Regions from separate parts of the Homo sapiens genome. Here regions 2, 3, 4 and 5 are each linked to region 1. Evidence: promoter capture Hi-C in 16 types of primary human blood cells and fetal thymus (Javierre and others, 2016). All regions are on one chromosome and are shown on one strand. The core of a region is centred on a gene start or on the middle of the fragment in contact, and the rest is flanking DNA. Distances in the headings are between cores, read along the strand shown.

Region 1 (6,016 bases), core at 1,344-3,843:
TGCCAGCTCTGCAGCTTCAGAGCCCTCCGCCCTGGAGGGAGGAGAAACAGCAATTGGCCTAAGCAGGGGCAGTCTAGGAGGATGTCCTGCACCCTATACCGTTGGAAAGGCCATTGGCTACCTTGTGGCTGGAAGAGGAAGAGAATACAGGAAGGGTTTGCACAGTGCTCATTACCTTGGGCACTATGGAAATGGGCACTGTGGAAAGAACAAGAAAGGGCAATGGGCACTGTGGAAAGAACAAGGGCTTCTGAGTCCCAGAGTGCCAAGTTCTAAGCTCTGCTGATTACTAGGATGTACATGCAAATTATGGATTGTTCCAGGACGGCAGGCGCTCTGTAAGCGACAGCGGCTGCTAGTTACTCCCTAGCCGGGAGTCCTCACCTGCCAGCAGCAATCTGGGCAGTGAGCTCCCGCTCCCTCCGTAGCAAATCCTCTCGCACACTGTCACTCTCCAGCACACTCTGCAGGGCAGGAGTGTCATCTCCAGCAACCTCTTGCTCAACGTGCAGCAGGGAAATGTGGGCTGGAACCCGCAGACTCCGGGTGGCCAGCATCTTCAGTAACGTTGTCTTCCCCAACCCATTCCGCCCCACCAGCCCGTAACGGCGGCCCCATGCCAGGTTCACATCCGCTCCAGCCAGCAGTACTCTGCAGGAGTGGAGAAAGGAGACCAAAGATGCTCTAGAAATAGGTGCACAGCAAGTTTAATGACAAACCTAACATTGTTTATAGCCCCGTTTCACCTCTCCAAATTGTCCTCTAATTAGAAAAAGAAAGCCAACCCCTGCCACCACTATTCCCTCACCTATCGCCAAAAGACACATCAAAGTTCTCAATTCGCACATCATAGGATTTGTTCTTGCCAGATGATTCCAACCGACTCTCCTTTCTGCTGCCTGCCTGGCTGGCTGATGCCTCTTCTAAGACTCTTTAAAGGGAGAAATGGACAGCTCTTAGTGCTCCCCACCACCTTCTGTCCAGGCAAAAGCTGCTCTGCTCTCTTCTGAGCCATGCTTCCCCCACTCACAGAGGGTTGCTGGTCTTGAGCGTGTCCTTCTCTGAGCGCTTCTCCTGCTTTGCCTTAAGTCGAGCCTCGGCCTTCTCTAACTTCTTTGCATTCACTGTCTAAGGGTCCAAACACATCGACTTCACTCTCGGGTGTAGGCTCAGAAAGGAACCCCAAGAGAGAACATCTCGAGTAAACCCTCTTAACTTACCCATGATGAACAGACTCAAAGGCTCAGGAAAAGACATAGTCAGAAATCCCCCCAAAAGATACTCCAATTAGACAGTCAACTCCCAACCCCATCACAGACAGTCCCCTCCCTTGCTTCCTCCTCCTCACCGAGGACTGTTCCCTCTTTAGCAGTCCTGGAAGTTTGGTTCCACAGTCTGTAAGCGATAAGAAAAGCAGTCACCTTCTCCCTGAGGGAAGGGAAACTAACATTTTGAGTGACTAATAGGAACCAGGCACAGACACAGATGTTTTCTACAAAACCTTATAATACTGCAGATAGATGGCTATTATCTTCCCTGCACTAAAAACAAAACAAAACAAAACAAAACAAAACTCACGTAGAAGGATACAGAGGCATAGACAAGGCTGGGGACAGATAACCAACTCTTACAAGATCATGCAGCTGGTTAGCAAGTTGCAAAACTGGGGGTGAAAGCAAGTCTGTCCAGCTCCAGGCTCTTATGCTTCCTATCCTACCCAAGAGCTTGGAGGGAGAACCCTCCAACCTCCTCCCCACCCCCATCATGGGCTCTTCTGCCCTCGGTAAAGACATCAACTAGCTCCTACAACCTTGTCCTGTGGAAAAGACGTAGGAGCCCTAAGCTGCAGGCAGCAGATGGTTGGGGGCGGAGAAAAGCACAGGGGGGCAGTTAGTTCAACCTCCCCTCACTCTCACCGTAGTTCTCCGTTATCTTTGACAACTGGATAGGGGCGTCCAGTAGCACCTGGCTATTTCCCTGGCTTTGTGGCTCAGCCCTATGTGGGTAGGGATAGAAAGCGCAGAGTTAGGAGTTGAGGGAAAAGCTCTATGGCCATCAGATCTTCCTCCCCCACCTCTTGTCTCCGGACCGTTCGCCGTCCCTTCGCCCCCATCAACCCCTACTCCCTGGCACATACAGACGCAGAGTGTTGTACATGCGCTGGCACACGGCCCTGATGCCCGCGTCATCCTTGCTGTCCCCGGACACCTCTTGCAATAGTTCCCCTACAGCTTCCACCAGGTCATCCACAGACTCGAAGTCCGCGCTGCCGCTGTGCAAGACGCCTGGGCAGGGCGTGGTAGAACGAGGAAGGTATCGGGTAGGGTGGACACACAAGCAGTTTCAGACCCCAGACAGAGGCCCCAGTCCAGGCTCCAGACCCAACCAGCCCCCGGGACAAGAGGTCATGCAGAGGAGAGGCCTGGCAACAGTCCCGGGCACGACGCTCGCTTAGACTTTCCCCCGGCCTCCACTTCGGTCTCCCCAGCCGGCCGATTCAGTTCTGCTTACCGGTCACGTAGTCGAAGACTTGTCCGTCAATTTCGGGGAACTCGCTCCGCAGGATTTCGGCGCAAGTCGCCATGTTCCACTCAGGAACCCGTCCGCGCAGTCGCTGTGAGACCCCGGCCTAGGCCCGCCCCCCGCCCTGCCCCCGAAATCTCGCCCTTCCTTGCAAGGCGCATGTGTAGCGGTGACGCAGGAAAGGAGCGGAGTGCGCAGAGCCCGGTGGGCGGGGCGAGCGGGGCCTTGAGGAGAGGCGCCGAGTCTGCGCCGGAGCCGCGCTCTCTGCGCGTGCGCGACACCTTTTCCGCTGAAAGATTAGCCACATGTGCGGTTCTCGCTGCCTTCTGGGAGGTGGAGTTCCGGGAGCGAGGGGTGGGGCAAAGGCTGGGAGCTCAAGGTTTATCGGGGCCGCGAGGCACCCGTGGTCTGGCGGGTGGGAGCCTCCCAAGAGGCAGGCGGCTGATAAAGCACTTTGGCTTTGCCAGGTTTTATGCGCTCCCTCGAGGCGCGTCTGCTGCTGGTGCGTACCCAGTCAGGCCCATTTTGGAGCCTGCCCAGAGCTTTGCTGACTCACCCCGGTCCCTGACTCTCAGAAGCCCCCTGCTCAGTGCTTTGCTTTCGCGGGTCCCCAGACCCTACGGGCTTCTCAGCCTGGTGGCCAGCGCCACCCGCCTCCCCGCCGCGACCGCCTTTTCACTGTGTAATTCAGCCGACCTTTGTGAATTAAGCCCATTCAGTTCTTCCACCACCCCAGGGCACGACCAAATCCACCGCCAAAGGGCAAGAAAACCAGGACAACGTGGCCTGTATAAATTATTCCCTACCTACACCCTGAGCAGACTTCTCTGCACTCAATAAATGCCAATAAAAGGCTATTTCCTTTCACCGATTCCCTCGGGAAGTTAGGAATTTCCTCCAAAATGATGCTACTGCTTTATATTTAACGTGAATATTCCTCCAATTGGTCTCTAAAAGTGGCACCGAAAATTACATTATTACCCATTCATCCCTTTGGATTAAACATTGCCATCATGAGGCATCAATCCCGATATTGAACCATTTTACAGGAAATACAGGTAAAGAGGAATATGTTAAGTGACTTCATGGGGACAACAGGCAAATTCTGATGTGGTAAACTACAGAACTCTGGTTTCTTCCACAAAATTGCAAGACCTGAAGGGAAACATCAATTTTTAAAATTTGAGGAGCATTAACCAACCACAATGGACCTTATCTGGAAAAATTTGATAAGACACCTGGTTAAGTGAACACAAACTGGATGTGATATTAAGGAACTGGCCACGCATTGATCATAGTTGAAGCTGGGTGATGAGACATGGAGATTCATTATATTCTTTTTTTTTTTTTTTTTAATTTGAGAAGGAGTTTCGCTCTTGTTGCCCAGGCTGGAGTACAGTGGCGTGATCTTGGCTCACCGCAGCCTCCACCTCCTGGGTTCGAGCGATTCTCCTGCCTCAGCCCCCGAATAGCTGGGATTACCGGCATGCACCACCACGCCCGGCTAATTTTGTAATTTTAGTAGAGACGAGGTTTCCCCATGTTGGTCAGGCTGGTCTCGAATTCCGGACCTCGGGTGATCCACCCGTCTCGGCCTCCCAGAGTGCTGGGATTACAGTGTGAGCCACCGCGCCCAGTCCATTATGTTATTCTCCTTGCAAATCTTTCCTCCTACCACCCAGTCAGCAAGATTTGGGAAGCTTGGGTAAATGATGGAATTAAAAGGTCAATTTCTTAGGATGGCTACAAGACCAAATGTAAACTTCACACTTAATTTATGCTTAATCTAATTAGAAAACATCTGCCTAAGAATTAGAGAAAGAGCTGGGTGCTGTGGTGGTGCGTGCTTGTGATCCCAGCTACTCCAGAGGCTGGGGCAGGTAAGATCTCTTGAGCCTAGGAGTCCGAGGACCAGGGGGAATAAAAAGGAGCTAGGGAAAGAATCTATCCCCAGGGTACTGGGGCCCGCTGCGGCTGCATGCCCTTGAGGCTTTCTAAGAGGAGCCAGGAAACCTGGGCCCAGAACCCACAAGGATAAGGGCTTGGATGGCCCAGGAGGGGCCTAACTGGGACAAGACAAGGAAAGAGCCTTTAGAGTATTCAGTACAGAAAACTGCACGGAGAGCAACACCAGTTCCCTCCCCATGTAGCTCCCACATCAACACTAAGCCAGCAACTCCACTCTACAGAGTTTATTGGGTTTGTAACTGGACGAAGTCACACGTGTACAAAATGAAGCTCACACTATCCCAAAGCAGAGTAGGGACTGAGGCCGGGGATCCATTACTGGCCTTTGGGGGAGCTCTGAGGTGAGGGGCAACCAACCCTCCCACTCCAGAGCTGTGGCCACAGGGGTGGGAAGGAAAGGGAACCCACCTGGCTTTGGTCACAGAACTCAGAGCCTGGCATTAGGCCAGGACAGACAGGTGGATGGGAGAGCAGGAGCCTCAGAACTCCCCTGCCCAGGGAGCCCAGGGGCTGCTCCACCGGTCCCACTTGTAATGTGCTTGGCCCAGACCTAGACTCGGGCTGGTGCAAAGGGAAGGCAGCAAAGCAGGAGGGAGGAGACACTGATGTGTGGTGGGGGAGGGAGCGGCACCTGGACCTGTGGAGGAGGGTGGCTGGGGAGGTGGGCTAGCTGCCTAGTGGCAGCTAGCAGCGAGTTTCATAAATGCCACTGCGGCCAATGTAGCGCACCCATTTGATGACATCATGGTCGCTGTAGTTCAGCTTCGGTTCAAACACCTTCAAGTAGCGCACCTTGAGGCCAGAGGGCGCGAATGGCACCTGGGCAAGGAGAGCTAGTTAGAAATGTGGCCTTCCTCTTACAGCCGCTCTCCTCTGGGAAGTCCCGTTGCCCTGCCCTACTTCATCGCTACTACAGGTGTTTGTATGGCTGGGGTCCTGAAAGAAGCTGGGGCGGCGTGGGACCTTCTAAGAGGTGACTAAAGAAGAAAGCCCTACCTGTGACACCTTGAATCAGTTCCTTTAATCAGCAGGAGACAGCAACCAAAGAACTGCTTTAGAACATACTTATCCTGCTCAATATTATGAACTTAAAAATAAGGTGGAGAAAATTATGTCTAACATGCGCAAAGCAAAGTCAGCCCATTATCCTGTCTGTAAGTAAACTTTGTGTCTTACCTGGCATTTAAACAATCTAAGTTTTTTGAAAGAACTGTGTTAGGACAAGCCGAGAGAAGTAAAAGATTTGCCTCATCACAAATAGTAATTTCTACTAAGAGGCTTGAAAGGGGAAGAATGGATCTATGAATTAAAGCCAGTTCTTCTTTCTAGGCCTCAGTTTCCTCACCTCTAAGGTGCAGCAGTTTATCGGAATGATCTCTAAGAGGTCTTCCAGCATACCCTGGCATGACTCTAGGCCCCTCCTCTGCCATACCTCAAAGTTCATGGAAATGGGGGGTCGAGCCCATTTCTTCTTGTCGTTGGTAGGCAGAAGCTCAATCTCTGCGCTGATCTGCGATTCCTTCAT
Region 2 (6,237 bases), core at 3,249-5,748, 630 kb before region 1:
CTTGGGGTACTTTGAGGGTACTCAATTTTCACCTTATTCATTTAGATACAGACCCTATTTAGAGAAACATTACTATATACTGGGATGGGCTGCTTTACTTGACCCTGGAATTTCTTTCCAAGAAGGCACATTTAGGTAATTGTAGCTCACAGTGCCAGAACTGCCACGACGAAAAAGCCCAACCCTCTGTTTCTCTTTCTGTTGTTGGTGAATGTCTAAATGAGGAGAGTGATCATAAGTACATACAGATTAAAAAATGTTAAAAAGAAAAGTAAGGGGAAGGAACAGTGCCTAAGACCTTCCTGTATACAGTGAGTGCTAAGTTACTGCTATGAATTGTCAGACAATCAGCTCCAGCCTAGAAAAGAAAAATCTAATCCCCTATCACAATATACAAAACAATAATATGAACGAAGTCTACAAATATCTAGATAATGTAGAAATTCTAACTTTATTGATCAGTTTTATATCAATATGTGTGTGAGGTAATAAGTGAAATAAATAACAGAGAAAAATGATCACTTCCAGCTTCTATAATACTGTCTCCACTATCATGAGAATGTCTCTTCTCAGACCCACTTCAGCTCCAAAGAACTCCTCCTAAAAAGCACAAGGGCCTTGTGTACGCTGAAATATATTCCCTTTTCTTCTTCACATAACTGACTGATGCAGGTAAATTCTTGTAAGTTAAATGCGCAAAAGACAGGATTCCACTTAGGTAAAGGCTGAGTAGATGATGGCCTTCTTTATTAATTTGCAATTAACTGTCATCTCAATTTCTCTTGGTTAGGTGTCAAGAAGGATATAGAGTCATGAGAGATTTATTCTTTTTTTTTTTTTTTTTTTAAGAGCAGGAAGTAACTGGAAGCGTCTTGCTGAACTGCAACGGAAAAAACAAAGGTTAAAACACCCCAGCACCACTGCCACCTTTCCTGGAGGGCAACTGCTTCTCCTCCATTCCAACCATGTGATTTTGGTGGTGCTGCCAATCAAGTACCCTATCTGCCTAGCTAGCGGAGCAGAAGAGTAGGCACATCACATTCTTGGGTCCTATGTGGCCAATCAAGGTACTTCTGGAATTTCTCTTTATTCTAGGGTGCTTAATCTTGGATGGCATAACACAGGAGTCATCTGCAGTCACATCTTTTATGCATTTATATACAGTCATGTGCCCCAAAAAGACGTTTTGGGTCAACGACAGACCACATATACAACCATGGTCCCCTAACATTACACATAATGGAGCAGAAAAATGCCTGTAGCCCAGTGATGTCACAGCTGTTGTAATGAATGCATTACTCATCTGTCTGTGGTGATGCTGATGTAAACAGACCTACCGCACTGCCAGTAGTATAAAAGCTAAGCACATACAATTATGTGCAGTACATAATACTTGATAATAAACTATGTGCCAGTTTATGTATTTGCTATCCTATACTTTTTATCTTTAGAGTGTACTCATCCACTTATTTAAAAATTTAAAAATTAGCTGTAAAACAGTTTCAGGCAGGTCCTTCAGGAGGTATTCCAGAAGGCACTGTTATCATAAGAGATGACAGTTCCCTATGTGTTACTGCCTCTAAAGACATTCCACCGGGACCTTCCTGACTCTGTGTAGGCCTAGAGTAATGTGTGTGTTTGCGTCTTCGTTTTTAAAGATTAAAATTTTTTGAAATAGAAAAAAGCTAACAGAATAAGGATATAAAGAAAATATTTTTGTACAGCTAATTGTACAATGTGTTTGTATTTTAAGCTAAGTTTTATCACAAAGAAGTTAAAAACTTTTTTAAATTAAAAAGTTTATAACATAAAAGTTACATTACAGTAAGCTAAGGTTAATTTATTATTGGAGAAAGAAAAAATTTTTAATAAATTCAGTGTAGCCTAAGTGTACAGTGTTCAAAAAGTCTACAGTAGTGTACAATAATGTCCTAGGCCTTCACACTCACTCACTACTCACTGCCTCACCCACAGCAACTTCCAGTCCTGCAAACTCCATCCATGGTAAGTGCCCCACACAGGTTCACATTTTTCAATCTTTTAAACTGTATTTTTACTGTACCTTTTCTATGTTTAGATATACAAATACTTGGCCATTGTGTTACAACCACCTACAGTATTCAGTACAGTAACATGCTGTGCTGGTTTATAGCCTAGCAGCAACAGGCCATCCCACATAGTCTAGGTGTGTAGCAGACTACACCATCTAGGTTTGTGTAAGTACACTATGATGCATGCACAATGACAAAATTTGCCTAACCACACATTTCTCAGAACATATCCCCTAACTGTCCCATGACTGTAACAGGAAGAATGAGGCTTGCAATTACAGTTGCAGAGGAGATAGGGAACTGGGGGTTACTGGTCCTTTGCAGAAAGGGAGAGAGACACAAGTACTCCATCACTGGAGTCACTGGATTTAGTGATATAGTGATACCCCAGCCCCTTCCAGGTTTGGAGCCAATAAATCCCTTTTAGCTTAAGCCCATTTGAATTTTCTGTCACTTGCAACAGAAATATCTTTGACTAAAAAAGTATAATTGCTATTACAGTAAACCTAAGAAATTCATAACAGTGAAAAATCCAACGCAAAGCTATATTTCCTTGCTAAAACACAGAACACATTTAATAATGTCATACAGCGTGAAGATAAGTCAAATATTCATTCAAGATTCAGTTAAGAATACAACAGTTTGATCTTACCACTATGTACCGATGACACCTACAGCTGTGGATCAAGAGAACATACGATCTAAACTCTATGAAAGCTATCAATAGATCCAAAGTTAAACATACTTCATTAAATTCAAAAGATCTTACTTCTCATTCACATACATAACTGACATTTTGTGTCACACTGGTTGAAATGTCAATGGAATAGTGAGATACAGCTAAGAATCACCAACATGTCCCAATATTCTGGAAGACAGAAAACATCCATCTGCTGACAATGGTCCAGATACGAAGCAAATATATTAAATATAAAGAAAAAATCAACATATTACTCTGTTAGAGCTCTGGAAAGAATTTTCTCACAAATGCCTCTTTGACCATATAAAGCCCAGTAGTTCAACGAATTTTTTTTCCATTTATCTTTATTGCATATTCTATGGAACAGGCCAGCTATTGCCAGAGGATTCAATACCTATTCTGTGCTTAAATTTAACCATGAGCAAACCCACGTCTTACACAAACATATGCAGATTCTCCATCCACATTTATATTAGATATACCTCAAACCCACACAGGCAGACATAGACATACACAGACAATTAACATGTAATTGTCTCCCAAATGCAGACATTTGGAGTAAGGTTTAGCACCACAAGCTAACATCCATGCTTGTTTTGCTTGGGTTTTGGGGTTTTTCAGTAGGGGAAAGTAGAGTATGGTAGAGGGTGGATGGTGCAGAGGCCAGAAGCCTTCCTATTCATTCTAACAAGAATCTAAGAAGTGGAGGGGGCCTGCTTATTTAAAGAAGGCTCCCCAGCTAGCTATTCCTGATAACCCACGGCCATGGAACCTCTCACCGATCCTACCTCCTCCCACCCTATCCTCCTGTAAAGCACCCCCATTTTGTACACCCAGACACTCTGAGCAGCTGTTTCCCTCCTTCCCCAGATGCCAAGCACAAAGAACTGGCCAAGGCACAGGAGTAGCCTCGAACTTCAGAGGCCCACCTTTCACCCTGCTGCCCTCACTCTGGTGCACAACTTGCACGCGGAGACAAACTGGAACCAGCCTCACAGGGTGCGCACCGATCCTAAGAGGTGGACACCCCATCTAAGCCTCAGGCTCAGGCACCTTGATATCAGTCCCTGGAGGCTAAAGGGGTCCACACCTGTTTCCCAGGCCCGACAGACCGGCTACACACCTGTTCCGCCCGGGAGTGGGGAGGGGCATGACACCCGCCGCCTAGGCTCACAGTCGGGGGAGCGGGCGCGCCAGTCCCTCAGCCTAATTGCCGCACGACTGTAACAGGACAGAATGAGGCTTGCAATTATAGTCGCAAAGTAGATAGGGAACTGAGGGGTTACTGGCCCTTTGCAGAAAGGGAGAGATACACAAATACATCACCGGAGTCACTGGATTTAGTGATACCTCAGCCCCTTCCAGGTTTGGAGCCAATAAATCCCTTTTTACTTAAGCCCATTTGAATTTTCACATTCATTTGGAACCAGTAAGTGGAAATTGCCCGACCCAGTTCCGGGCCAACGTACGACACGCCCCTCCACTCGAGAATCAACCCCGCCCGGCCCGTGGCTCGGGTCCGGTTAGCCCGTCAGGGGCTGCTCTGTTCGCTCCCCGAGGTCCCGCCGCTGTCGCGCGGGGAGGAGACGCCGAGGCTCAGAGACCTGTCGCGCGCTCTCCTCCTACCCTGAATACGGCCCCTCAATCCTGTCTCCTTCCACGGGCCCGCTCTCTGGAAACTCGTTACCTGAGCTTGCTGCCATTCCGGCCGTGGACCGCCGGCCCACGTGACCGCACCCACTGCTCTAGCCTCACGCACGCGCACTACCTACCACTGCGGGCAGCGCTTCCGCTTTCCTCCTCGCACTGCTCCCCCTCCTGGGCGGTCCGCGCCTCTTCACCACGCCCCTATTTAAAGGGCCAGAGATACGCCGTCTTCCCCCCTACGGAAAAAATGGGTGATTCACATCTTGAGGACCAAGAGAATGGAAACGTCGAAAGAGTAGCGCAGACAAATAAATAACAGTCCTTGAGGTGAGAGGAGAAAGCTCCTCCTTTAAGAAAGTGAACTTACTTGCAGCCAGCCCAGAAGGGAAGTTGATTCCCTGCCTTTTGGAGTTTGCAACCAGTAAATTTTTTTTAACTTTTTTTTTTTTTTAAAAGATGAACTCAGAATTGCCTATTTATTGTGTCAAATAAGTACAATAGGCACACACATACTAAAATACCAACTATTATCTTGTAATATATCATCAGTGTTGCTCCCCAAAATACATCTTAACACCAAAAATACAGGAGAAACATAGTCTCAAATAAAGGAAACATCTGAAAAATGAACAAAAACGTATGCTTATTTCTCTTATCGCTCCTGAAGAAAGGTGAAAGCTTTCAGAACAGACTGGTTTCTAGAGTCATCACTGTACGTAACATTAGCCCCAGGACACAGATTTTAGGCCTGCTGGGGGCTATATAGGTCAAGAAAACAGGAGGAAGAACACCAGAAGATACTCTTGGAAGGAGATACAGAAAATATTCGGTTGGGCAGACATTTTTGAGCATCAGCTAGGTTCACTAGACTTCTGGGCCTTCAGAAGACCCGAAGGTGTTGCCCTGTCCTCCAGGTATTTATTTTCTAAGAATTCAGTGTACAGACATAACAAAATACAAGGCAGGCTGTTTTGAGTAATATAAAGAAAGACATTGAACCACCATTTTCGCACAGACAGGGGGAAAGGGTGAAACACTCAAGGAAGGATGTGGTATCTTGTCAGGGCCTTGAAGGATTTCAGTAGCAGAGAGCAGGGAGAATGCCTAGCTGAGGGAAGGGTGGGATCAAAGGCAGTACAAAGCAAGTTTGGGAACTAGTTATTGGCCTGATGTAGCCGTGGTGTGGCCAGTGGCTTTCAACCTTCTTTTAATCATCCCTCACAGTAAGAAATACATTTCAGGCCAGGTGCGGTGACTCATGCCTGCAATCCCAGCACTTTGGGAGGCTGAGGCAGGTGGTCAGGAGTTCAAGACCAGCCTGACCAACATGGAGAAACCCTGTCTCTACTAAAAATACAAAAATTAGCCAGGTGTGGTGGCATGCACCTGTGGTCCCAGCTACTCGGGAGGCTGAGGCAGGAGAATTGCTTGAACCCAGGAGGCAGAGGTTGCAGCAGTGAGCCAAGATTGTGCCATTGCACTCCAGCCTGGGTAACAGAGTGAGACTCCGTCTCAAAAAAAAAAAAAGATACATTTCAGCCATGGCCTAGTATAAAAACACACACAGTATGCGCATATGTGTGAGTGTGCATTATAGATAGATAGATAGATAGATAGATAGATAGATAGATATGCTGAAACAGTAATTGCCCTTAGAGTGTACAATGCAACTTGGTATTTTCTATTCTATTCTCTTTTTTTAAGTGCTGGTTACTGAATTCATTTCAGTACTCAGTGATGCAGAGCAACCCATAGTTTGAAGACACTGGTGTAGTGTGTATTAGAGATGTGGTGGGCTATGAGGCTGGAAAGGCTAGGACCAGATCCAGGAAGACATTG
Region 3 (5,406 bases), core at 2,266-4,765, 760 kb after region 1:
TACAGGCGTGAGCCACCGCGTCTGGCCAGCTTGAGCAGTTCTTTACCGGAAGGGAGAGAATGGTCTAGGTTTTGTAAAGGACAGAGTTTGGTCCTTTACAGTGGTATCTGCAAAATGAGGCTAAAGCCTTTAGAGTGTTGTTGTGAGGCCTCAATGGTGTTTGTAAAATGTCTAACATCATACTAGACACAGAACGGTCACTTGCTATATGGTGGTGGTAGTTGCTGTACCTGACACTGCCTATCACAACCATAGCGGATGTTCAGTAGATGTGAGTGATTGTTAATTGGTTCACTGGAGAAGGAAGCAGGCTTTTCTAGCTTGTTTCTCTGATTTTGCCAGCTGAGATGTCTTAGTCTGTTTTGTGCTGCGCTAACAGAAAACCATGGGCTGGGCAATTTATAATCAACAGAAATTGCTTTGGCTCCTGGTGTTGGAGGCTGGGAAGTCTAAGATCGAGGGGTGTACCTGCTGGGAGCCTTCATGCTGCATCATAACGTGGTGGAAGGCATCACATGGGTGAGAGGAAGGGAGAAGGGGACCAACTCCTCCTTTTATCAGGAACCTACTCCAGAGATAACAGCATTAACTCGGGACAAAGCCCTTATGACCTAATCACCTCTTAAAGGTCTTCTTTCTCAATGCTGTTGCATTGAGGATTGAGTTTCCAACACATGAACTTTGGGGAACACATTGAAACCACAGCACAAAGAGGCATAATATAAGAGATCATAATTAGGAAGGAGAAAAACAGGCAGGGAAGGTGGGAGGGTGGGAAGAAAGAAGACAGAAAGAATGTCAGTGTTCATGAGAACAATGGAGACAATGACCATTTTCTTGGAAGAACAAGGAGGTATGAGCTATTGAACACTATGTGGTCATTTCTTCTTCTTCTTCTTCTTTTTTTCTTTGAGATGGAGTCTCACTCTGTCACCCAGGCTGGAGTGCAGTGGTGCTATATTGGCTCACTGCAACCTCTGCCTCCTGGGTTCAAGCGATTCTCCTGCCTCAGCCTCCTGAGTAGCTGGGATTACAGGCGCCCACCACCGTGCCCGGCTAATTTTTGTATTTTTAGTAGAGATGGGGTTTCGTCATGTTGGCCAGGCTGGTTTCGAACTCCTAATCTCAGATAACCCACCCACCTCGGCCTCTCAAAGTGCTGGGATTACAGGTGTGAGATAATGCACCCAGCCGATCATTTCTTCTTAATTCCAGTTATAGGATTTCAGAGCTGGAAAAGGGAACTTGGAGATCACAGACCCACTTCCTTACTGCCCAGGGGAAGCAGTGAAGGCCCTGAGAGAGTAAGTGTCAGAGATAAGAGCAGAATTAGTTTCTGAGGATAGGCACTGCCTGCTACATCTCACCATAACTTGAGCTCATTTATCTCCATGGAAACCTTTGAGGACTGTGAAAGTACCAAAGATGTGGGCAGCACTCTGAGTGTGATTTATTTCCTTTCTGTTTTCTTTTTGTTCTCATTCTTAATCATAAGCTTCTCCTCCCTCCTTTTCCTCTCCTCCATTCCTTCTCTTCTTCCTTTTCATGTTTCTCACCCATAAGGACCCGGCCTAAGCCAGGAAGCTGAGGTTACTGGATCTTCAAAGTGGCTCTGACACTCCAAGTCCAACATACCCCACATCATTGTCTTCTTTACTAGGCGTTGGTTTCTGCTGACCAAAACTCACAGTTGGCTGTGACTGGGCACCAGGGTTCTGACTACTATCAGTAGGAAACATCTCATTTGGTTCCTTGAAAATTCTTGTGACCCTTGAACGCCGGAAACATAATTCAAAAGCTGCCTCCCCTCCTGCGGATCTTTAACCTTTCTTTTTTTTTTTTTTTTGAGATGGAGTCCCATTCTGTTGCCCAGGCTGGAGTGCAATGGCACGGTCTTGGCTCACTGCAACCTCCGCCTCCTAGGTTCAAGCAATTCTCCTGCCTCAGCCTCCCGAGTAGCTGGGATTACAGGTGCGTGACATCATACCCAGCTAATTTTTGTATTTTTAGTAAAATGGGGTTTCACTATGTTGGCCAGGCTGGTCTTGAATGCCTGACCTTGTGATCCGCTCGCCTTGGTCTCCCAAAGTGCTGGGATTACAGGCGTGGGCCACTACGCCCGGCCTTTTAACCCTTTTTTGAATCTCTTGCAAAAGGTGGTTGTGAAAATGGTTGCTCAGTGGCCGGGCATGATCACTTGAGTCCATGTGTTTGAGACCAGCCTGGGCAATATGGTGAAACTCCATCTCTAAAAACGAAAAAAAAAAAAAAGAAAGAAAAGAAAAAGAAAATCCTTGCTCTGTTTTGCAGGCAGAGTGCAAAGTGCCCAAACTTCACAGGGGGAAGAACCTCTCCACAAATCTCATGACACAGGTGAACTGACCTCGCTTCTCAATCACAGCCCACAATTGTTAGAGAAAGCATTAAAAAGGGCTGGGCGCGGTGGCTCACGCCTGTAATCCCAGCACTTTGGGAGGCCAAGGTGGGCGGATCACGAGGTCAGGAGATCGAGACCATCCTTGGCTAACACGGTGAAACAAACCCCATCTCTACTAAAAAATACAAAAAATTAGCCGGGCGTGGTGGCGGGCGCCTGTAGTCCCAGCTACTCGGGAGGCTGAGGCAGGAGAATGGCGTGAACCCGGGAGGCGGAGCTTGCAGTGAGCTGAGATCGCGCCATTGCACTCCAGCCTGGGCGACAGAGCCAGACTCAGTCTCCAAAAAAAAGAAGAAAAGAGAAAGCATTAAAAAAATACCCTCAGCCCCCTGTGATGGGTGGCTACTCCTAGAATTTGGATCCAGGGTGTTTGCGGCTTGGCTTTTTACATATCGAAGAGGAAAGAGATGGCTGAGAACATCCGCCTGGGTGGTCCCGCCATTCCGCCTGCTGAGTATTCAGGGACTCCCGCTGTAGAAAGGATTGGGGGACAACCTGACCGAATTCGCATTTGCTCAGGCGTTTCCCGTAGCGCTCTGCTGAACTGGGGTTAGTCTTTTGCTGCCAGTCAGAAAGTGTCTGGGCCCAACTAGGGAAACCACGGGATAATGGGCTGATGGGGAGGAGGACCAGCATGGAGGATGTGCCACAGCCCCTCCAGAAGGTAGCACTGGCGTGCCTGACAGGTGACAGACGGAGCAGAGGCAAGGGCGCAGCTGCACGAAGGAAAACGCCCACATAGGGGGTGAGCGCGCCCACGCGTGCTCAGCCTTGTCGGAGCGCAGCCCGGGCGCCGGGCTCCCAGTGCAGGTGTGGCCAGCGGAGGTCAAGAACTGCGTGGAACAACCCCAAGTGGGGGAAAACACACGCCAGCCGCCCCCGGGGTCAGGAGGTGGGGCAAGCAGCGGCGCCTCACCCAGCCTCCCGCTCCGGGTCCTGCCGGATGGCGGCAGCTCTCCGGGCCAGCCCCCTTCTCTCCGCGGCTCCTCCGCAGACACCCGGCGCGGAAGAAGGAGGGGCGGAGACCTGGCCGGCGCGCGTCTGATGATCCGGACCCCGGTGCGACTGGAGCGCCTCAGTCACTGTCTCCCCGCCCCACGGTTCCGAGTAAGGACCGGAGCTCCACTCCGGGGGTGGAGCGCGGGCTCCCCGCAGGGAAAGGTGCGCAGCGTTCCCGACCCCAAAACGAGCGGCGCTTGGGAGCGTGCGTGCCTCCCCGAGAGCCCCGGGCGCCACCCGTGGGCTGGACGAGGTGGGCGCTGGGGCGTGGGGCCGGCGGCGCAGAGAAGCCACGGCCACCTGCCGCCTCCCCTGCACCTGGCGGAGCATCCCTCACTCTACAGTCCCTGGAGGCGGCGCCGGAAACCTGGCGGCCGGGACCGCGATTCTGGAAGCCCCGGAGCTCGCCCGGCCGGAGGAGCCGGGGCGCGGTTCCGGCGAGATTGGCGACTTGCTTCCTTTTGCAGAACGGCCGCTCCTCTCTCGGTCCAGCTGCGACGCTGGGAAAGCGCCAGACTTGGTCTGTCACGGGAGCCCCCGCGGGGCGTGGCGAGGGAGAGCTGGCCTAGGCTGCGAGGGACTCTCGTTTCTTGCCTGGAGAGCCAGGAAGAGGGCGAGGGCAGAGCATCCTTGGGCGGAGATGCCTTTAAAAAATCATCCACCGCAGCGGTAGAAACAGTTTTGTTTGGCTTTATTTATACGGAATGGTTTTTCAGTGAAATGCTGTCTTGCTTAAAAGAAGAGATGCCTCCCCAGGAGCTCACCCGGCGACTGGCCACAGTGATCACTCATGTCGGTAAACGAAGCTTTAATTTTTCCTGCGTTTTATTAATGGCGGGTGAGGATGGTCTCTGGGCTTCATCTGGCTCCTGGCCTCACCCGCTGCCCCGGGGCAGCGCGCTTCCTGGGGGGTTGCCCGGCATCTGGGCCTCGCTGCTCTGGGTCCTGCCTGCGGTGCCCAGCGGGGGGCATCCCTGGGGCGCGCCGCTGGTGGGGGTCGGGGGGCCGAGGCTGGTGCCTTCACCAGGTGGTTGCCGAGTCCGTTGAGCTCCAAACCGAGGGCTGCTGGGCTGTTACCATCCGTTAGCTGCTTCTGACGGGAGTAGGGTGGGTGGGAAGTTATGTTCTGGTTTTGGGGATAGTGAGAAAGGAGAGGGCATAAGAGGAACGAATGCCAGTGCTTTTCAGCAGAAATGATTGCCACGCCACTGAAGGCTTGTTTATAAGAAAGTGCAGGGAGAGGCAGGTTACATGGGAGCGCCCCTGCGCAGCTCGGCCGCTAGGCCTGTTTTACTGTGCTGCCTGGAGGGTTAAGCACACCCCTGATGATCCCCGCGAGAAATCTCTGCAAGCCAAGGAGACTGAGCAATTTTAATCTTCTTCCCTGAGTTGAAAAGAGGAGCAAAACATGCATTGCTTGCTCCTGAAATAAGGGTTGTGATGGAACGTCAGGCCCCACAGACTAAGTAAGGGCAAGAGGACATTGAGACAGTTCCCAGTCAGTTTTTTCTTAGCACTTTCTTCCCCTTGGCCTTCCCTGGACCTCCCTCAGTAAAGACACACATTCAGGTTCAGAACCTCTGGATGTGGGCAACTGGAATTATCGGGATCATTTTCTCTGTTGCTGACTGTGCTTGGAGGTCCTCCCATGAATGCAAATCAGCTTTTATTGATAAAGCCAGGAACTATTTGCCTTGGTTTTCTACACATTTGTGAAAGCTGCTTTCTTGGTACTTGCATGTTAAATGTTGCCTCAATTAGTCCAACGTGTTTGCTGTAATAATCGTGCACATCTCAAATGATACACTTGTGAGGACATACTTTGTAAAGATGATTTATATGGGAAGGCCCAGTTTTGATAATTCAAGTTTAGAAAAAAGTTTCTGGTGCCAATTGTGGGCACTGAACTTTTACGACAAAAGATCAGTAGGATCCTACCAGGTAAGGTTGAATGTGAAATATTGCTGAAG
Region 4 (5,493 bases), core at 429-2,928, 630 kb after region 1:
AGTGCTGGGATTACAGGCATGAGCCACCACGCCCGGCCGTCAGGTTTCTTTATATGCTCCATTATAATCTTTTGGGACCACAATTGTATATTCAGTCCATCATCGATTGAAATGTCATTGTGCTGGGCATGACTGTACTTGTGACCGTTAATTTTAGATGTCAAGTTTACTGGGCTAAGAAATACCTAGCAACCTGTTAAAGCATTACCATGGGGCGTGTCTGTGAGGTTGTTTCCAGGAGAGATTAGTGAGTCTGAGTGGACTCGGTAGAGAAGATACACTCTCAGTGTGGGTGGGCACCATCCAATCAGCCAGGGGCCCAGAGAAAACAAAAACAGAAGAAAGGTCGATGTCTCTATCTCCTGAGGCTGGGATACAGTCATCTCCTGCCTTGAACAACAGGACTCCAGGATCCCCTGCCTTTGGACTTCAGGACTTACACCAGTCTCCCCACCCCCTGGATTCTCAGGCCTTTGGCTTTGGACTGAGAGTTATACCATCTTCTCTGGTTCTGAGGCCTTTGGACTTGAACTGAGCTCTCAGCAGTCTGTCATGCGACTTCTCAGTCTCCATAATCACGTGAGCCAATTCCCCTAATAATTTCCCTCTGCTATGCCTCTCTAGGTATCCTTTTGGTTCTGTCTCTCTGGAGTCCATCATCGACTGAAATATCATTATGCTGGGTATGACTGTAATTGTAATGGTTAATTTTAGATGTCAAGTTTGCTGGGCTAAGAAATACCTAGCAACCTGGTAAAGCATTACTGTTGGGCGTGAGAGAACGCTAACTGATACGCTCCTATAACTTCCCCAGGATATCATGGGATTTTAATAATGACAGTTATTACTACTTAACTGAGACATGCAGAGGTAATGAAAATACTTCAGGATCCACCGTTAGATGCACGGTCAGTAGATGTTGGGCTAATCTGAGACGTGCTATGGCAATTCGGTGTAGACCCACCCTGACTCATCCTCTGAGAAGATGCTGTTGATGGAGTTTTGGAAACCATTTCTTCTGTGCCCCCAAAGCATATTCGAAACAATAGACATTTTTTTTGGTGGGGGAAGACATGAAAGTTTGCCATGACGTTGTTTTCCCCTGGGTAGGGAGGAGGATGAAGATAGACGATCTGCAGTGCCGCCAGAAATGAGAATGTCAGGGATAAGTGGGGTTTCCATGGTTTACAAAGCACGGTTGTTGGATCATTGTGGGGTCTCAGACTCCTGGGAGGAGGAAGTGGGAGGATCATAGACTGTCTCCTGTCCATCCCCTCGCTGACGACTTGGGTTATTGAGCCACTAGGAGTACAAATGTGAAGCAGGAGGATTATAGACTGTCTCCTGTCCATCCCCTCATTGACGACTTGGGTTATTGATAGCATTAGGAGTACAAATGTAACAGCCACCACCGGAGGCTTCCTGCTCACGGATATGAGGTGGGAGATGCACCAAAATAAACACACAGCACTCACAGTGGACTCTGAGAGGACACTCCTCTTCCAGAACCCCCTCCCACACACCTATTCTAAGTAATTTCTAACCCTGTGATTACTCACAGAAAGAAGAAGAATAGAAGTTGCTGGCATTTGTAGTAACAGGATGAGAAAGTGCGAGACTTCCTGTTATGTGTGTGTGACAGCTGGTGATAAGTGGAGGGCCCTGCACAGGAAATCCGCTCAGCTCCTGCAATGGGGCCTGCCTGACACTTGGGCGCTCCTTCAGTCTCGATGTTGATGGCAGGACAAAGGGGCGCCTGGACCATGGGTGATGTGGTCGAGAAGAGTTTGGAAGGGCCCCTGGCACCTTCTACAGATGAGCCCTCCCAGAAAACAGGAGACTTGGTCGAGATCTTAAATGGGGAAAAGGTCAAATTTGACGACGCGGGACTCTCCTTAATTCTTCAGAATGGCCTGGAAACCCTGCGAATGGAAAACGCTCTGACAGATGTCATCTTGTGTGTGGACATTCAGGAATTCTCCTGCCACCGCGTGGTGCTTGCCGCAGCCAGCAACTATTTCAGGTCAGCATGCCTAGGACCAGAGTCAAATTGGGTGCAAGTTGCAAGGAAGAGGTGTGTTAGTGTGAGAGCCCAATCTTGAACAGTTGGCCATGATATTTATGGTTTACATATATATTAAGGCTTGTGTGTCTACTTAAAATATAAGAAAGGACACTATCACACTTTATTTTATTATTTATTTATTTATTTATTTTTGAGACGGAGTTTTGCTTTTGTTGCCCAGGCTGGAGTGCAATGGCGCAATCTCGGTTCACCGCAACCTCTGCCTCCTGGGTTCAAGCGATTCTCCTGCCTCAGCCTCCCGAGTAGCTGGGATTTGCAGGCATGCACCACAACACCCGGATAATTTTGTATTTTCAATAGAGATGGGGTTTCTCCATGTTGGTCAGGTTGGTCTTGAACTCCCGACCTCAGGTGATCCACCCGCCTCCGCCTCCCAAAGTGCTGGCATTACAGGTGTGAGACGCTGCGCCCGGCTTATCACACTTTAAATTTTAGGATTTAGGCCACATTAAAAGAGAGATTGGCATCATTTAAAAGCAATGCTTACATTCTATAGTAAACCTTTTGTGTATATTTCCTTGTTCCAAAGGATGGAAAATTACTGAAGTCATGGGGACTTTTTTCCCCCTTGGTCTGACTGGTGTTGGAAACATAATGTTGTCTTTGTTAATCAACAGACATAGAGAAAAAGGATGTGGCCCCTCTTCTGGAGTTGTCAAATGACTTGTTACAAATTAGGGGCTTCTTTATGTGTAGGCAGTGTGGGGAAAGGGAAAGCAGTTACAAAGATGCTTTAGATGGGAGAGGCCTCTAGTTACGATAAACTGGTGATCTCATAGTGGGAAGGCCTGAAGTCAGGAGACTTGGTTCCTTCTTGACAGTGAAACTTTAGGCAAGTCACAAAGTGCTCTGAATGTCTGTTTCATCATCTGTAAGGTGAGCACAATGATGATCACCTTTCAGGGCTGTCATAATTAAACAAGAGCGTGAAAAGGGTCCTACACAGTGTCTAGCATATAGTAAGTAGATGCTCAATATATCTTTCTTGGAATTCTTTTTCTGATTCTGCTTGATTCAGCTAAGGATGACTTATTGAGTGTTTCCCATGAGCACGTCCCTGGGGTAGGAATTTTATAGCGCTGGGAACCCAGTGAATACACCTGATCCAGTGTTCTCCATATCAGCATGGACATGGGGGAACCAGCCTGCAAGGGCAATGTGGATAATGAAGAAAGTATTTGGGAACTTGAAAAGAAATACCCTTAGAATTCTTCTTAATGAGATTCTTCTTAACTCTTGATTCTGGCTGAGGAAATTGAAAACGATTAACCTATGAAAGTATTATGGAAAGCGTTTTCTTTCTTTCTTTTTTTTTTTTTTGAGGTGCTTGGGGGGAAACGTTTCTTTGTAATTCATAGAGCAGGATCAGCAGGTTGCTGTGGGACTCATTAGGTCTCCTGTGTTGATAAGACAAGGGGATATCTGGGTTTGAGGGAAGCAGTGGCTGCTGTGTGCCAGACAGACATAGTTATCTGATTTTATTTTTGTAACAGCATGATGAAGGTGGCTGATATTTCACAGATGAGGAAATGAAAACTCAGCATTATATATCTGGTCATTGCTGGAGCAGGGACTGGGTATGTTCTGGAAATCCTTGTTACTGCAATGCAAGCTGCCACTAGGTCTGGGACTTCATTCCATGGGAAGTGTGTAAAATATAAAGTGTAAACACAGCCATCAAAATGGGTTGATATAAACACATTACTTTCTCCACCAACCTTGATCACGTGCTTTCACGTTGACTGCAGCCCCTCTCAGGAGTGAGTGAAGTCAAGTTAGCTCAATGCCCTGGGGACGCACATTTAGGTTGATCCTTTTGTATCCCTTGCTATCATAAAATGCATACCTGGAAGCAGTTTTGTTAGCGGGTTGGCCTGGCTGTGGACCAGGCCCGCTGGCTGTGTGCCCTCGAGTTGATCACTGGTCTTCTCTGGTTCTTGGGTTTCTCATCCTAAATGGGAATTTGGGCTTGGGTCCTTCCAGCCCTGCTGATCCAGGATACTTAGGGAAAGTCTCTGCCGGTCGTCAGAGGAGGCAACGGCAATGAGAAGCTGGAGAACATGAGGGTGAAGGCATCTGACTGTGTATACAGAGCCTCTCCCAAAACTGCCTGGTCATGAGAGGAAATTCCTTCAATTCTTCTCTTCAGAGAAGTGACTTTTGCTTCTTCTCTTGGGATTTTCAACGTGACTTTCCTTCTACAATGAATACTGTCCTGGAGACAGGATTCTTTCTTCCGGTGCTACTATTCCTATCAACTCCTGTTTGTGGAGCGCTTACTGTGGGCCAGGCCCTGTAGCTTCTGTATCACATACTCTAGTCCACTCCACCCTCACAACAACCTGACAAGGCAGGGAGTCCTATCCCCAGCCTACCGACGGTGAGCCAAAGTCCAGAGTGTCACAGCAAATAAAAAGTAGCCAAGCTGGGATTTAGACCTAGGACTGACGTTAAATCTGACACACTCTCTCGCTTTGTGTCTGAGGTTTTGAAAGGGGTTCTTCGTATGCTCAGGTTTAGGGAGGTCAAAGAGTCTCTCTGTCTGAGAGGCTTTCTTTTTTTTTTTTTTTTTTTTTTTTTGAGACGGAGTCTCGCTCTGTCGCCCAGGCTGGAGTGCAGTGGCACAATCTCTGCTCACTGCAAACTCCGCCTCCAGGGTTCAGGCCATTCTCCTGCCTCAGCCCCCTGAGTAGCTGGGACTACAGGCACCTGCCACCACGCCCGGCTAATTTTTTGTATTTTTAGTAGAGACGGGGTTTCACTGTGTTAGCCAGGATGGTCTCCATCTCCTGACCTCGAGATCCACCCGCCTCGGCCTCCCAAAGTGCTGGGATTACAGGCGTGAGCCACCGCGCCCGACCAGTCTGTGAGGCTTTCAACACAGCTCTCTGTGTTTTGGAGGGCCTGGAAGCTGGTTATAAAATTATGTCATTTTTTTCCTTTATTCACTGAGAAAATAATTACTTTCCACTAAGGGACTGACAATAGTTTATTAAACAGTCCCCTACGGACAGACATCTGGACTATTTCTAATCCACATTTTGCTATTACAAACAATGTTGTAATGAATAACCTGAAACATGAGTTTTTTTCATATGCATTTCTTGAAGGGGGTTTGCTGAGTCAAATGCATCTGCAGTCTTAGCGGTTATTGCAACTTCTCTTTCATTGGGGTTGAATCATGTTGCGTTCCCCCACGGCATCACCAAAAGAGGGTGTCATCCAACCGCTGAAGTTTTACCAATCTGATAAATGAGAAAGAATATCTCAATTTAGCTTTAATTTGCATTTTTCTTATTTTTAGTAAGATCAAACATCTCTTCGTATGTTTAAGGGGCATCTGCAGTTCTTTTTTTGTTGAACTGTCTCTTCACTGCCTTTCTGTTTTTCATGTATTTTTTTAAAAT
Region 5 (6,118 bases), core at 2,392-4,891, 530 kb before region 1:
CCCAGCTACTCGGGAGGCTGAGGCAGGAGAATGGCGTGAACGTGGGAGACGGAGCTTGCAGTGAGCCGAGATGCGCCACTGCACTCCAGCCTGGGCGACAGAGTGAGACTTCGTCTCAAAAAAAAAAAAAAAAAAAAAAAAAAATTCTGTGTGTCCGGTTACATGGTGGACATAACAAAAAAAAAAATGGGAAAAATTATTGTTTGCATTCCTTCCACTGTAACATGGTAACATCTAGCGATCGGCAAGTGGTAATGCAGAGTCCATTCACCTTTCTTACTCCTCGCCTCCTCCCATACCTAAAGGGCTGTTCATTTTTTAAAATCCTTTTTTATTTTTATAAATTTTGAGGTATGATTCATACACTATGAAATGCATACCTGGCTGGGCATGGTGGCTTACACCTGTAATCCCAGCATTTTGGGAGGCTGAGGCAGGCAGATCACTTGAGGTCAGGAGTTTGAGACCAGCTTGGCCAACATGGTGAAACCCCGTCTCTGTTAAAAATACAAAAATCAGCCAGGTGTGGTGGCAGGTGCCTGTAATCCCAGCTACTTGGAAGGCTGAGGCAAGAGAAGCACTTGAACCTGGAGGCAAGGGTTGCAGTGGCAGGGGTTGCAGTGAGCTGAGATTGTGCCATTGCACCACTCCAGCCTGGGTAACAGAGTGAGACCCTGTCGCAAAGAAAAGAAAAGAAAAGAAAAGAAATGCATAGCTATTAAGCGTACAGTTTCACAAGTTTTGACAAATGTATACCTACATCCAAATCAAGACACAGAACGTTGCCATCACCACTGAAAGTTCCTGGATACCCCTTTCCAGTCAACACCACCCCAGGCCTCCACTGTCCTAATTTCTATCACCATAGATTAGCTTATCCTGCCTCGAACATCAGATAAATGGAATCATATTATACGTATAATCTTTTGTATCTTTCATCTGTCACTCAACATATCTGCCAGACTCATTCACATTGTGTCAGTAGTTTGTTCCTTCTTATGAGTAGTATCGTCATTTATTCAGTTCTTAAAATCCAGCCCTATTACCACAGATTTGTCCCTCAAAATTCTTTTCATTTAATATATCTTCTGCATGCTCCTTTCCGTGCATGTATCTCCTGCATATCTCCCTGGCAATCCTTGTAGTGAGGAAAATATGTAAGTGGACTATTTTATCTCTAGCACTGTCCTTTTAGGTATGGGTGGCTCTCTCTACCTTCAGGAAAAACAGATAACCAGGCAGTCTTGCTTCAGAGTTTACAGATCTGGGTTTTCATTTCTTGTCTAGCACTTAACAGATGGGTGGTTCAGGGCAGGTGATTTAACCTCTCTGTGACTGTTTTCCCATTTGTAAATGTGGATAATAATACCTTCTTAATAGGGATTTGTGAGGACAAAATTATATTGTACATAGAATGTTTGGCACAATGAAAACTAATAATAGCCTCAAGCTAGGCTATAATAAACATCCTCTCCTGCTTCATTCACATACTTCCAGGTTTGTAAGTCATATGATACAAGTGGGTATAAATTTTCAAAAGTTTTTAAAAGGAAGATTTCATATTTAGATTTAGAAAAGTCTATCAGATATTTACTTAAAATAAGTAACTGTTATTTCCTAGGGAAAAAAGTAAAGCCTTCTGTCATTTATTCATTGGCAATTATATATCGAGTATTGACTAAGAGAAGCTCTTCAAAAGAGTTAAAAACATAGCCCTAGCTTTTAGGATGTTTGGTTTGGGGAGGGTAATAAGATAAGCACAACAAATTATAATACAAAATATAGTAAATGATAATAATAATAATTAACATCTATGAATGTAGTGGTTAAGAGCACAGTCTCTGGAGTCATACTATATGGGTTCACATCCCAGCTGTGTGATGTTGGGCAAGTTACTTAACCTCCTTGTGTGTAACCTCACCTGGAAAATGGGGCTAATACCACTTACCTAGCAGGGCTACAGTATCAGAAAAAAGTGGCCCAGGGTGTTTGAGCATCCTGTACAAGGTCACAGAATGGGTGAGTACTGACCCGGTTCAGTGCTATGTCCCAGGACACCTCCTCCGCATCTCCACAGAGTGCTAGGCATTCCAGGACAGTTCATCTTGCAATTCTAATATTGTATATTGCATATAAAAATATGCATTAATTAACAGCTAACATGTATTGAATATCAATATGTGCCAAGCACTGTGTTAAATGCTTATGTGCATTACTTCACATAATCTCCACAATGCTGTTACTACTATTATACTCATTTTACTGATAAGGTAACAGAAGGGCAGAAGTTTAGGTAACTTGCCCAAGATTACATAGCTAGTAAGTAGCAAACTGTGTCACAGAAAAGATACAATCATCTATAAAATGGGGATGATGGTATTAGTACCTACATTAGTGAGAATCTGATGAATTAATATTTGAAAAGTGATTAGAACGGAGCCTGGCACCTAATAAAGCCTATATATGTGGATGTTAACAATTGCTAAGGTGATTCAGAGATGACAGTAAATAACTTCTATGCGTGGTGACTAAGGAAGGCTTGGGAAGGTGATGTTTAAACTGGGCCCTGAATAGTGGACAGGATTTGGAGAAATGGAGGTGATAGAGAGGGCATTTCTGACAGGGAAGGAAGGGAGGGAGGGAGGGAAGAAGGAAGGAAGGAAGGAAGGAAAGAAGGAAGGAAGGAAGGAAGGAAAGAAGGAAGGAAGGAAGGCAGGAAGGGAAGGAGGGAAGGGAGGGAGGAAGGAAGGAAGGAGGGAAGGAAAGAAGGAAGGAAGGAGCAAGAAGCAGAAGAAAGCTCAGAGTGTGTAAAAAGAGAAAAAGAAAAGAAATACATGGGAGTAGTCAAATTTGACTTGCGCAAAAAAAAAAAAAAAAAAGAACAAACTTCCCCTTTCTTCCAACCAGTCCCTATTCCTGCTGTACTTCTCAGTATTTTCCTCTTATCCCCATGGAATCTGCTGTCCTTACTCCCTCATCATAATGATCCATTGAATATTTATTGAGTTCCTCTCCGTGTCAGGCACTGCTCTAGGCACCGAGGATACAACCCAGTAAATAGGCCGGGTCCCAGTTCCTAGTTTGCACTATAATAATCCTCCAAACTGGATTCTAGCTTTTAGCCGGCCGAACTCCAATCTATCTTCCACAATACCGCCAGAACCGAAGACACAGATCTGGTCTGGACACTCACTTGCTTAAATCCCGCTGCAGTATTTTCTCTTTACGTCCAGAATAAATTTCAGTCTCCCTAGCATCCTTTACTAATTGGTTCGCACAGTCTTACCTCGCAGCCTTCACCGTGCACTCTGCACAAGAGCCCCGGTAAAGCACTGAAAATCCCAGATACACACACTCACAAATAGGCACTTGCAGAAAGAACGTGGGGGGCACTCCATCCCTATTTCATCTCTTGTACACCGAAACATTCCCCAGTCTGCATGCCTTGGATGGGAGAGTCCTGGTTACATTCCCCCGCCCCCGACTTTTCAAGCCTAAAATCCGTCACAGGGCGCACCCCCGTCCCCACCCTCCAGGGCATTTCCACTTATAGCAGCCTGGGCACACCCCCAACCCAGAAGGGACCGGAAAAGGAGGGGCTGCGCGCGGCACTAGGGTCGCCGTCCTGGCTGAGGTGGCCGGAAGTGGCCCCTCGCGCGGGCGCGGACTGAGGCTGCGCGCCGCAGGTTCCGGCTGCTGGCGGCGTTGCGGCCGCAGGTTTGACTCCCGTGCGGTGCGGCCCAGCAGCCACAAAGCTCCCGCTGCCATTGCTCCTTGTACTCCCGCCGTCACTGCCGCTGTCCAACCCCTCCCCCGGGGCTTGCGCGGCGGCTCCCACACCCCTCGGCCCGTGTACGCGCTCTGCACCTGCCTGCCCGAAAACATGTTGCAGACACCAGAGAGCAGGGGGCTCCCGGTCCCGCAGGCCGAGGGGGAGAAGGATGGCGGCCATGATGGTGAGACCCGGGCCCCGACCGCCTCGCAGGAGCGCCCCAAGGAGGAGCTTGGCGCCGGGAGGGAGGAGGGGGCTGCGGAGCCCGCCCTCACCCGGAAAGGCGCGAGGGCCTTGGCGGCCAAAGCCTTGGCAAGGCGCAGGGCCTACCGCCGGCTGAATCGGACGGTGGCGGAGTTGGTGCAGTTCCTCCTGGTGAAAGACAAGAAGAAGAGTCCCATCACACGCTCGGAGATGGTGAAATACGTTATTGGAGACTTGAAGATTCTGTTCCCGGACATCATCGCAAGGGCCGCAGAGCATCTGCGGTATGTCTTTGGTTTTGAGCTGAAACAGTTTGACCGCAAGCACCACACTTACATCCTGATCAACAAACTAAAACCTCTGGAGGAGGAGGAGGAGGAGGATCTGGGAGGAGATGGCCCCAGATTGGGTCTGTTAATGATGATCCTGGGCCTTATCTATATGAGAGGTAATAGCGCCAGGGAGGCCCAGGTCTGGGAGATGCTGCGTCGGTTGGGGGTGCAACCCTCAAAGTATCATTTCCTCTTTGGGTATCCGAAGAGGCTTATTATGGAAGATTTTGTGCAGCAGCGATATCTCAGTTACAGGCGGGTGCCTCACACCAATCCACCAGAATATGAATTCTCTTGGGGTCCCCGAAGCAACCTGGAAATCAGCAAGATGGAAGTCCTGGGGTTCGTGGCCAAACTGCATAAGAAGGAACCGCAGCACTGGCCAGTGCAGTACCGTGAGGCCCTAGCAGACGAGGCCGACAGGGCCAGAGCCAAGGCCAGAGCTGAAGCCAGTATGAGGGCCAGGGCCAGTGCTAGGGCCGGCATCCACCTCTGGTGAGGGTTGGTGAAAAGTTGGCCAGTGGGTCCCCGTGAGGACGAACTACTGTCCTGAGTCATAAGTAATATGGGTGGGGCGAGGGTCTTATTTCTGTAGAAATCGTGTGACTTTAAGGATTTAGATTTTGTATCTTATGTTTTGTAACATTTAATAATTACTGTTAAAATGCTGTTTGTAAATGAGATTGGTCTACTTTTTCCTGTAGGATTTTATTGTAGAGTTTTGCTGGTTTTGTAAAATGGATGGAAGAACTTTGTATTTATACTGTGATTTTGAACAGATTATGCAACATTGGAAGGAAGGCTGTACTTTGATGGTTTGAAGGAACTCAGCAGTATGATGATCTGGTTCCAGGGGAAAAAAATAGCTGGTTGGTGTCTAGCCCCCCAACACTTTTGTCTGTTGTGTATAAAAGAAGAAAGACTGGCATGTACCTTCATTTGCTTAGCTATTTGAGTATCTAGAGAAAAATTAAAATGCAATGAGTTAGCAGTATACCCTGGCACACTTAATAAATTAAACATTTGTGGAGCATCTTGTTTTCTGTGATGCACTGTGTGGGCACTTGGGGATAGAATACTAAACAAGATAAAGGTCCTACTTTTTTTCAGAATTGAAGAGTAAGTAAATAAACAAGAAATTAGCAGTGCAATGAGTTGAAGTCTACAAAGGGATACTTAACCCAGCTGGGATGATTGAGTGAGGTTTGCTGTAATCCCAGCACTTTGGGAGGCCGAGGCGGACTGATCACCGGAGTCAGGAGTTCAAGACCAGCCTGGCCAACATGGTGAAACCCTGTTTCTACTAAAATTACAAAAATTAACCAGGCGTGGTGGCACACACCTGTAATCCCAGCTACTTGGGAGGCCAAGGCACAAGAATCTCTTGAATCTAGGAGACGGAGGTTGCAGTGAGCCGAGATCATACCACTGCACTCCAGCTTGGGAGACAGAGCAAGACCCCGTCTCAGAAAAAAATAAGAAATAAAAATAATGATTTCAGATCACAGCTACTCCTCAGTAATGTGAGCAGACTTGATACATGGCAGATCTGGGAAATACTCTACCTTTGCCAGTGCTGTCTTTCCAGACCAGATTGTTAACAGTGCACAAAGATGTTGACTGTCAACTTTTTGGCCCTTTCTGTCTCCTTTTCAACCTCTACAGGGTTCCCTCCTCTACCAAAGCCCTCAGAGATCAAATAATGTAACACCTCTGGAATATTATGTAGTGTGGATGAAGGGTACCTAAATCTACTACTACCAAGAAGTTCCACTTCAAGATTTCTCCTCTGGCACCAGGAAGCCCAGTT

What was found. The method cuts DNA at HindIII sites, captures the fragments that hold promoters and counts their contacts. A CHiCAGO score of 5 or more calls a contact.
Region 2: a contact is called between the fragment with the promoter of VPS8 here and the fragment with the promoter of ABCF3 in region 1, in 12 of 17 cell types (total B cells, non-activated CD4 T cells, activated CD4 T cells and 9 more). The highest score is 18.4, in total B cells.
Region 3: a contact is called between the fragment with the promoter of MCF2L2 here and the fragment with the promoter of ABCF3 in region 1, in 12 of 17 cell types (activated CD4 T cells, fetal thymus, total B cells and 9 more). The highest score is 13.4, in activated CD4 T cells.
Region 4: a contact is called between the fragment with the promoter of KLHL6 here and the fragment with the promoter of ABCF3 in region 1, in 8 of 17 cell types (fetal thymus, erythroblasts, total CD8 T cells and 5 more). The highest score is 10.9, in fetal thymus.
Region 5: the fragment with the promoter of MAGEF1 here is called in contact with the fragment with the promoter of ABCF3 in region 1 in 1 of 17 cell types (non-activated CD4 T cells); the score reaches 5.8 in non-activated CD4 T cells.

Annotation. Positions count from the first base shown.
Region 1 is chr3:184,182,776-184,188,791 of GRCh38, reverse strand. It overlaps ABCF3 (ATP binding cassette subfamily F member 3), which reads right to left and starts at 2,593. Exons shown (of 21, transcript NM_018358.3): 1 at 2,512-2,593; 2 at 2,138-2,285; 3 at 1,917-1,996; 4 at 1,349-1,395; 5 at 1,031-1,128; 6 at 809-931; 7 at 385-651; 8 at 1-31. The coding sequence starts at 2,584. AP2M1 (adaptor related protein complex 2 subunit mu 1) reads right to left here. Exons shown (of 12, transcript NM_004068.4): 11 at 5,924-6,016; 12 at 4,701-5,310. The coding sequence ends at 5,176. RefSeq lists enhancers at 2,289-2,608, 3,086-3,800, 5,094-5,608. The HindIII fragment of the contact is 6,180 bases long and covers 1-4,225 here.
Region 2 is chr3:184,810,427-184,816,663 of GRCh38, reverse strand. VPS8 (VPS8 subunit of CORVET complex) reads right to left here and starts at 4,498. Exons shown (of 48, transcript NM_001009921.3): 1 at 4,439-4,498. RefSeq lists silencers at 2,188-2,237, 2,248-2,337 and enhancers at 4,371-4,570, 4,631-4,680. The HindIII fragment of the contact is 6,000 bases long and covers 1-5,078 here.
Region 3 is chr3:183,426,728-183,432,133 of GRCh38, reverse strand. It overlaps MCF2L2 (MCF.2 cell line derived transforming sequence-like 2), which reads left to right and starts at 3,515. Exons shown (of 30, transcript NM_015078.4): 1 at 3,515-4,232. The coding sequence starts at 4,157. RefSeq lists a silencer at 3,686-3,765. The HindIII fragment of the contact is 2,747 bases long and covers 1,498-4,244 here.
Region 4 is chr3:183,551,891-183,557,383 of GRCh38, reverse strand. KLHL6 (kelch like family member 6) reads left to right here and starts at 1,678. Exons shown (of 7, transcript NM_130446.4): 1 at 1,678-2,023. The coding sequence starts at 1,731. KLHL6-AS1 (KLHL6 antisense RNA 1) reads right to left here. Exons shown (of 2, transcript NR_046687.1): 2 at 5,058-5,331. RefSeq lists a silencer at 4,649-4,818. The HindIII fragment of the contact is 8,561 bases long and covers 1-5,493 here.
Region 5 is chr3:184,709,587-184,715,704 of GRCh38, reverse strand. MAGEF1 (MAGE family member F1) reads left to right here and starts at 3,641. Exons shown (of 1, transcript NM_022149.5): 1 at 3,641-5,341. The coding sequence starts at 3,884. The coding sequence ends at 4,807. It overlaps LOC107986163 (a long non-coding RNA gene), which reads right to left and starts at 3,462. Exons shown (of 5, transcript NR_160768.1): 1 at 3,287-3,462; 2 at 1-674. RefSeq lists an enhancer at 4,382-4,441. The HindIII fragment of the contact is 12,590 bases long and covers 1-6,118 here.